3 separate regions of the Homo sapiens genome follow, and regions 1 and 3 are each linked to region 2. Evidence: promoter capture Hi-C in 16 types of primary human blood cells and fetal thymus (Javierre and others, 2016). All regions are on one chromosome and are shown on one strand. The core of a region is centred on a gene start or on the middle of the fragment in contact, and the rest is flanking DNA. Distances in the headings are between cores, read along the strand shown.

What was found. Contacts are between HindIII fragments. The CHiCAGO score rates a contact against its expected background, and 5 or more counts as called.
Region 1: a contact is called between a fragment that was not itself captured here and the fragment with the promoter of TM4SF19 in region 2, in 1 of 17 cell types (M0 macrophages). The highest score is 5.2, in M0 macrophages.
Region 3: a contact is called between a fragment that was not itself captured here and the fragment with the promoter of TM4SF19 in region 2, in 2 of 17 cell types (M2 macrophages and M0 macrophages). The highest score is 8.7, in M2 macrophages.

Annotation. Positions count from the first base shown.
Region 1 is chr3:196,529,426-196,532,125 of GRCh38, reverse strand. No RefSeq gene overlaps it. Among named protein-coding and RNA genes, the nearest start is that of SMCO1, 15 kb to the right of the region's middle. The HindIII fragment of the contact is 388 bases long and covers 1,181-1,568 here.
Region 2 is chr3:196,337,030-196,339,729 of GRCh38, reverse strand. TM4SF19 (transmembrane 4 L six family member 19) reads left to right here and starts at 1,342. Exons shown (of 5, transcript NM_138461.4): 1 at 1,342-1,466. It overlaps TM4SF19-DYNLT2B (TM4SF19-DYNLT2B readthrough (NMD candidate)), which reads left to right and starts at 1,310. Exons shown (of 6, transcript NR_037950.1): 1 at 1,310-1,466. RefSeq lists a silencer at 1,038-1,209 and enhancers at 958-1,252, 619-1,818. The HindIII fragment of the contact is 5,119 bases long and covers 1-1,713 here.
Region 3 is chr3:196,483,371-196,486,070 of GRCh38, reverse strand. It overlaps RNF168 (ring finger protein 168), which reads left to right. Exons shown (of 6, transcript NM_152617.4): 4 at 2,180-2,301. Among named protein-coding and RNA genes, the nearest start is that of RNF168, 19 kb to the left of the region's middle. The HindIII fragment of the contact is 3,204 bases long and covers 1-2,700 here.

The DNA.
Region 1 (2,700 bases), core at 125-2,624, 190 kb before region 2:
AATTTGCTCTTTTTCTAACACCTTGAGATGAACACTTATCTCACGGATATGTCCAGCTTTTATTTTGCATTTGAGACAAAATTTCTTCAAAGTACAGTTTTAGCTACCTCCTTATTGTCTTATGTCACATTTTCATTGTTTTTCAATGAAACATTTAAAATTTTCATTGTATTTTCTTCTTTGAGACATGAATAATTTAGAAACATGGTAAAACACTGAAACTTTCTTCATGATGTTGGTAACAAGAGAATAGAATGAAGCCTATAATCCCAGCACTTTGGGAGGCTGAGGCAGGCAGATGGCCTGAGGTCAGGAGTTTGAGAATAGAATGAAATTCCCTTGATTAATTCTATTCAACATTCTGTTGAAGGTGTAGACATTACAACAAGACAAGAAAAAGAAATGAAAGACATAAGAATTGGAAAGGAAGAACTAAAACTGTCATTCACAGACAACATGATTGTGTTTGCAGAACAAGGACGGATGCGGTGACTCACGCCTGTAATTCCAGCACTTTGGGAGGAAAAGGTGGGTGGATCACCTGAGGTCAGGAGTTTGAGACAAGCCTGGCCAACATGGTGCAACCCTGTCTCTACTAAAAATACAAAAATTAGTCAGGTGTGGTGGCATGTGCCGGTAGTACCAGCTACTCAGGAGGCTGAGGCAGGAGAGCCACTTGAACCCAGGAGGTGGAGGTTGCAGTGAGCTGAGATCACGCCACTGCACTCCAGCCTGGGTGACAGAGCAAGACGAAAGAAAAGAAAGGCGGGCAGGCGGGCAGGCGGGCAGGCGGGCGGGCAGGCGGGCGGGTGGGCGGGCAGGCAGGCAGGCGGGCGGGCGGGCATCTACAGATGAACGACTAAGTGAAAAATGGGTTTAGTAAGGTTGCTGAATAAAAAGGTAAATATAGAAAAATTGGTCGTATTTATAACAGCAATAAGAAAAACATTAAACACTACTTACAACAGCATCAAGAAACATCAAATACCTAGTAATAAATCTAATGGAAAACATGCAAAAACTCTACAAAGGAAACTACAAAACACGACCGAGGAAAATTAAAGAGAATCTAAATAAAGATACGTATCATATTCATGAATTAGAAGGCTAAATATTATGAAGATGTCAATGTAATTCTACTCAATATCCCAGCTCATAGCGTTCTAAAAATTAGCAAGCTTATTGAAAATTTTATATGAAAATGCAAATGGCCCAGAATACCCCAGATAATCTTGAAGAGCATAGCTGGAGGACTCACACTGTATGTTATTAAGACTTTTTAATGAAGCCAAAATAATTAAGGTTGAGTGTGATTTGGGCACAAGAATAAATAAGCAGACCAATGGAACAGAATAGAGGATAGAAATAGATGCTTGCATGTATGCAAACTTGATTAATGACAAAAGTCCACTGCAGAGCAGTGAGGAAACTCTTTATAATAAATGGGATTGAGTCAGTTGTATATCCATATGGAGAAGAAAAGAATCTTGACCTTCTTCACATTAATCCAAAGGTCTAAATTTTAGGCATATTACAGATATAAATGTAATAGGTAAAGTGGTGAAGCTTCTAAAAGGAAAAAAATATTTTCATGACCTTGGGGTAGGAAAAATTTCATATATAAGACATCAAAATGAAAACATGATAAATTGGACTACTTGAAAATTAAGAACATTAGTTCATGAAAACACACCATCAAGATGATGAAAAGAAAGCCACGGAGTGGACCGGGTGCGGTGGCTCAAGCCTGTAATCCCAGCACTTTGGGAGGCCGAGGCAGGCGAATCATGAGGTCAAGAGATCGAGACCATCCTGCCCAACATGGTGAAACCCCGTCTCTACTAGAAATACAAAAATTAGCTGGGCTTGGTGGCATGTGCCTGTAGTCCCAGCTATTCAGGAGGCTAAGGCAGGAGAATCACTTGAACCCGGGAGGCAGAGGTTGCAGTGAGCCGAGATCGTGCCATTGCACTCCAGCCTGGGCGACACAGAGAGACTACATCTCACAAAAAAAAAAAAAAAAAAAAAGATACAATGCACTTTGGGTATTCAGGGGAAAGGGTGGGAAGGGGGCGAGGGATAAAAGACCACACGTTGGGTACCGTGTACACTGCTCGAGTGATGGCTGCACCAAATCTCAGAAATCACCACTGAAGAACTTATGAAACCAAACACCACCTGTTCCCCAAAAACCTATTGAAATAAATAAAAAGTAAGTAAAATATAAAAATGGTAAATTTTGTTATGTATATTTTTGCACAATTTAAACAAACTTTTCTGGCTCACACCTGTAATCCCAGCACTTTGGGAGGCCAAGGCGGGAGGACCACTTGAGCCCAGGAGTTGGAGACCAGCCTGGGCAACGTAGCAAGACTATGTCTTAATTAATTAATTAATTAATTAATTTATGGAGACAGAGTCTCGCCCTGTCACCCAGGCTGGAGTGCAATGGCACGATCTTGGCTCACTACAACCTCTGCCTTCTGGGTTCAAGCGATTCTCCTGCCTCAGCCTCCCGAGTAGCTGGGATTACAGGTGCGCGCCACCACGCCCGGCTAATTTGTTGTATCTTTAGTAGAGATGGGGGTTTCACCATGTTGGCCAGGCTGGTTTCGAACTCCTGACCTCGTGATCCGCCAGCCTCAGCCTCCCAAAGTGCTGGGATTACAGGCGTGAGCCACCGTGCCCGGCCTCAGAAGC
Region 2 (2,700 bases), core at 93-2,592:
CACCAGGGTATACATGTAAAAATTCATCAGACTTTAACATTAAGATTTGTGCACTTTAGGCTGGGCGTGCTGGCTCACACCTGTAATCCCAGCACTTTGGGAGGCGGAGGCGGGTGGATCGCCTGAGGTCGGGAGTTTGAGACCAGCCTGACCAACATGGAGAAACCGTGTTTCTACTAAAAATACAAAATTAGCCAGGCGTGGTGGCACGTGCCTGTAATCCCAGCTACTTGGGAGGCTGAGGCAGGAGAATTGCTTGAAGCCAGGAGGCAGAGGTTGCAGTGAGCTGAGATTGTGCCACTGCACTCCAGCCTGGGAACAAGAGTGAAACTCCGTCTCAAAAAAAAAAAAAAGAAAAGAAAAGATTTGTGCACTTTACTGTATATAATATCTAGATGTTTAAAATGCAATGGGAGCATAGAGAAAGAAGTACCTAACTCGGAGTAAAGAAATCCTGGCAGACTTCACTGGGAATGTTTGAACTGAATCTTGAATAGGAGCTTGTCCATAGAGGGTCACGGATCTCCCACACAGAGAGCACCACAAAATCCTCAGCAATTTGGTGAGAGTATGGTACAAGATGATAGTGGCCTGGGGCTTGAACAAGAGGCTGAGTGCGGTGGCTCACACCTGTAATCTCAGCACTTTGGGAGGCTGAGGCGAACACCTGAGGTCAGCAGTTCGAGACCAGCCTGGCCAAAATGGCAAAACCCCGTCTCTATTAAAAATACAAACATTAGCCGGGCATGGTGGCAGGTGCCTGTAATCCCAGCTACTCAGGAGGCTGAGGTGGGAGGATTGCTTGAGTGTGGGAGGCGGAGGTTGCAGTGAGCCGAGATCATGCCACTGCACTCCAGCCTGGGTGACAGAGTGAGACCCTGTCTCAAAAAAAAAAAAAAAAAAAAGTTAGACGTCTAGTACAGGAACCATGCAACACATCGAGTCAGCCAAGGGCAAGGTAAGGAGAGTGATGAGGAAAAAGGGGTGGCTGCCCTGCTCGGTGCTGTTCTGTCAAAGAGCCGAAATTCTTCGCGGGGTGGCAGATGAGGACAGGAACAGCTGGGGTGTGGCAAGTGTTGCTGCCTGGGGAGAGCGGAGGGTGAGGTGTTTCTCACGGGTGCATCCAGTGACTCATCAGGACAGCGGAGCTCATGAGGCCATGTCTCCCGTTTCCTGCCTTAGAATCACATGAAAATGAGCAGAGGGTGGGTCATCAGGACAGGGCTCTCCGGGGAGCGGAAGCGCCTTCAATGCAGGCCTGTGGGCAGGGGCGTGGGGGCGCGCACACACACACGCCTGGGTGACCTCTACGTATATACAGAGCCTCCCTGGCCCTCCTGGAAAGAGTCCTGGAAAGACAACCTTCAGGTCCAGCCCTGGAGCTGGAGGAGTGGAGCCCCACTCTGAAGACGCAGCCTTTCTCCAGGTTCTGTCTCTCCCATTCTGATTCTTGACACCAGATGCAGGTAAGCAGAGATGAAAGGGTGAGGTGACGGCCAGGGAACAGCCTAGCCTCACAGATGAGAGTGCACGCTTCCACTCCAGTGAGCCTGGCTCTGCAGCTTGGCGTCTGTGTGACTTTGCGCCATTCACTTACCTTCTCCTGTTGCCTCAGTCTGTCAACTTCTGGCCTTTGCACCTAGAATACTCTTCCTGCCTAGTATCTCATCGTCCATCAAGTTTGGGCATGGGCAGCCCTTCCTCCGGGAAGCTTCGTTTTGCTTCTGCCAGATAGGATTAGGTTCCTCCATGTGCTTCCATGACACCTTAAGTTGGATGCCCCTGCCTGGTACTTACTGTTACCAGCTGTGAATCCAGCGAGTCTGCAGCAAACTCAATCCTTGCCTTCTCGGGGGAGAGATTCGGCTGAGGGGCAGAAGTGGGTTTAAGGCAGAGGGAGAGGCTGAAGCAAGTTTGAGAGCAGGAGTGAAGGTTTATTAAAAAGTTTTTGAGCAGCAATGAAAGGAAGTAAAGTACACTTGGAAAAGGGCCAAGTGCGTGACTTGAGACACCCAAATGTGCTGTTAGACCCTTGACTTGGCGCCTGCCTGCCGCACAGGCACTTGGGAGGGGCCGCATGCGCAGTGTGTTTACTGAAGTCGTGCGCATGCTCACTTGAGGCGTTTTTCCCTTACCCGCGGAGCAGCACTAGAGGAAGGTCACACACACCAGCTAAACTCCACCATTTTGCTTCTTAGTGTAGATGCTTGAGCCCACTCGCCCAATTCCTGAGCTCTTACCAGGAAGCTGCTGATCACCAAGTTCAGGTATTTTCTATCTATTGGGAGACTGTCTTTCCCAACGCTGGCTGTGACCAATATTATTTTAGAAAGACAGTGTAACAACCGCCTGGCCATCACCTGATAGTCACCTGACATTACTGGGGTAGAGGCCCTCTCCCGCCCTGCTCATGTCTGCTCTATTTCTTACCACACTTGATTAGAATTACTTTTTGGCCAGCCTGACCCACATGGCGAAAACCCATCACTACTAAAAATACAAAATTAGCCGGGCGTGGTGCATGCCTGTAATTCCAGCTACTTGGGAGGCTGAGGCAGGAGAATAACTTGAACCCGAGAGGCGGAGGTTGCAGTGAGCCAAGAGCATGCCGCTGCACTCCAGCCTGGGCAACAAGAGCGAGACTGTGTCTCAAAAAAAAAAAAAAAAAAAAAAAAAAAGAATTGCTTTTTGCGTCAGCAG
Region 3 (2,700 bases), core at 72-2,571, 150 kb before region 2:
CACATACTTTAAGATCAGAGGGTACTGTGGGGCCCAGTGGTTTGAACGAGCCTGGCAGAGTAACCTGGGAATGCTGTTGAAATACAAACTCTCATATTTACTCCAAATCTATTAAGTCAGAGTCTCTAGGGATGGGACCTAGGGAATACAATCTTCAGAGGCATGTAGGGAAGTGTGAAACATTCAGGTTTGAGAGCCTGTGAAAACAATTCTTCAGCTTTCAAACAACGAATATCTTAACATACACTTACCATTGAATCATGGGAAGTTCAATAGAATAAAAAAATATATATGTATATACACTTAGCAAAATGAGTATACGCAGAATTGGGAATTTTTTTCTTTTTTGAGAGGCCTACCATTAATAATAATGTACCCAAATTTTGGGTTATATGCCCCTTTTTATGTGTCTTTTTTAAGTAGAATCGCTTTAGAAATACACAATCAGGAAACTAAATAAAAGTCATTGACCAATGGAATAATAAATGGAATAGGGAAGAAGTATATCTAGTTTTCCCATGGTATTATAAGAGTAGATTTATTGATACTGTAGAATAATTTTTTTAACTTTTTTTTTTTTTGAGACAAGAGTCTCACTCTGTCACCCAGGCTGGAGTGCAGTAGTGCAACCTCAACTCCCGGTTCAAGCGATGCTCCTGCCTCAGCCTCCAGAGTATCTGGGATTACAGGTGCCGCCACCACATCCTGTTAATTTTTGTATTTTTAGTGCCGATGGGGTTTCACCATGTTGGCCAGGCTGGTCTTGAACTCCTGGCCTCATGTGATCCACCCACCTCAGCCTCCCAAAGTGCTGGGATTACAGGCATGAACCACCATGCCCAACCTAGAATAATTTTCTATTTATTTATGAAAGTTTGGTGGTTTAAGGCCAAATATTCACCATCACCATATATGAACTTTTCCATTAGGGTAGTAAGAAACTTACGAGACTGGTACAGCAAGTAAATATTTGTGATTTTTATTAATACGCCCTTAAAGTCCAGAACTAAAATATTATTACATAAAACTATTCTTTTGGGTATATCCACAGCTCTCTGAATATGTCCATATAGATAAAAGTAATTATATAAAAGTATTTATTAGAAAAATCAACAGGCTGGGCACAGTGGCACAGACCTATAATCCGAACACTTTGGAAGGCTGTGGTGGGGGAATCACTTGATTCCAATAGTTGGAGACCAGCCTGGGCAACATAGTGAGACCTCATCTTTACAAAGCATTTAAAAAAAAGTAGCTGGGCATGGTGGCACATGCCTGTGTCCTAGCTACTCGAGAAGCTAAGATGGGAGGATTGCCTGAGCCCAGGAGGTTGAGGCTACAGTGAGCTATGATCACTCCACTGCAGTCCAGCCTGGATGACAGAGCAAGACTCTGTCTCAAAATAAAACAAAAACAACCCACCTAACCAAGCCTGGTGGCTCATGCCTGTAGTCCTAGCTACTTGGGAGGTGAAGGTGGGAGGATCACTTGAACCTGGGAGGTCAAGGTTGCAAGGAGCCATGATTGCTACACTGCACTCCAGCCTCGGCGACAGAGTGAGACCCTGTCTTAAAAAAAAAAAAAAAAAAAAAAAAAAGGCCGGGCGCGGTGCCTCATGCCTGTAATCCCAGCACTTTGGGAGGCCGAGGCAGGCAGATCATGAGGTCAGGAAATCGAGACCATCCTGGCTAACACAGTGAAACCCCATCTCTACTAAAAAAAATACAAAAAATTAGCCGGGCATGGTGGAGGGCGCCGGTAGTCCCAGCTACTCAGGAGGCTGAGGCAGGAGAATGGCATGAACCTGCGGGGGTGGAGCTTGCAGTGAGCCGAGATCGCGCCACTGCACTCCAGCCTGGGCAACAGAGCGAGACTGCGTCTCAAAAAAAAAAAAAAAAAGGAAAGAAAGATCAACAGGAATTATCAGCTAATGAGGTTAGTATTATGCCTTATTTTGTGCTTGATGTACAGTAAAAATGTAATTAATTTAGACCAACTTGGATGAACATAGTTTATTCTGATTTTTGCATGGTCAATATTCTTCAAGAGATGTACAGAATTTAAATATAACTATAATTTCTGAAAAATGCTATGGATTTCTGAATTAGTCAAATTAATAGCTTATTTTATCATAAAGTTCTCTCTCATAATGTCTGTTATGCTTTTTCTATTGTTGAAGAACAATTTCTGTGAGGGAAGTATCTCGGCTTCTCCCTTGAATTCCAGAAAATCTGATCCAGTTACACCCAAGTCTGAAAAGAAAAGTAAGAACAAACAAAGAAACACTGGAGATATTCAGAAGTAAGTGAACATGACTATGAATTATTTGTTGACCTCCTACTGTATGCCAGTGTTTTCTGTTCATATAGACTACTACTGATTCTCAAAGTTTGGTCCGTGAACTTTGTATGAAAATAGTCTGAGGTTGAGGTAAATTGAAAAGGAGAGAGCTACTCACACAGCTTCCTCTTGGCTTCTCACTCAGCCACTTACTGTGGCAGATTCATACTTTTATCTTACTGCCTCAGGATTTCCAGTTTTCTCAAAGTGAACCATTGGATTCCTCTTTCTCTTGGTTTAAATTCAGATGAAAAAAATGGGTCCCAGATAGGCTTATCTTCACTGAAAGAGTTTACAATTTGTCATTTCTTCTCTATTACACAAAATGCATGAGTCAGGTAGACAAAGGTGGCGTGATTG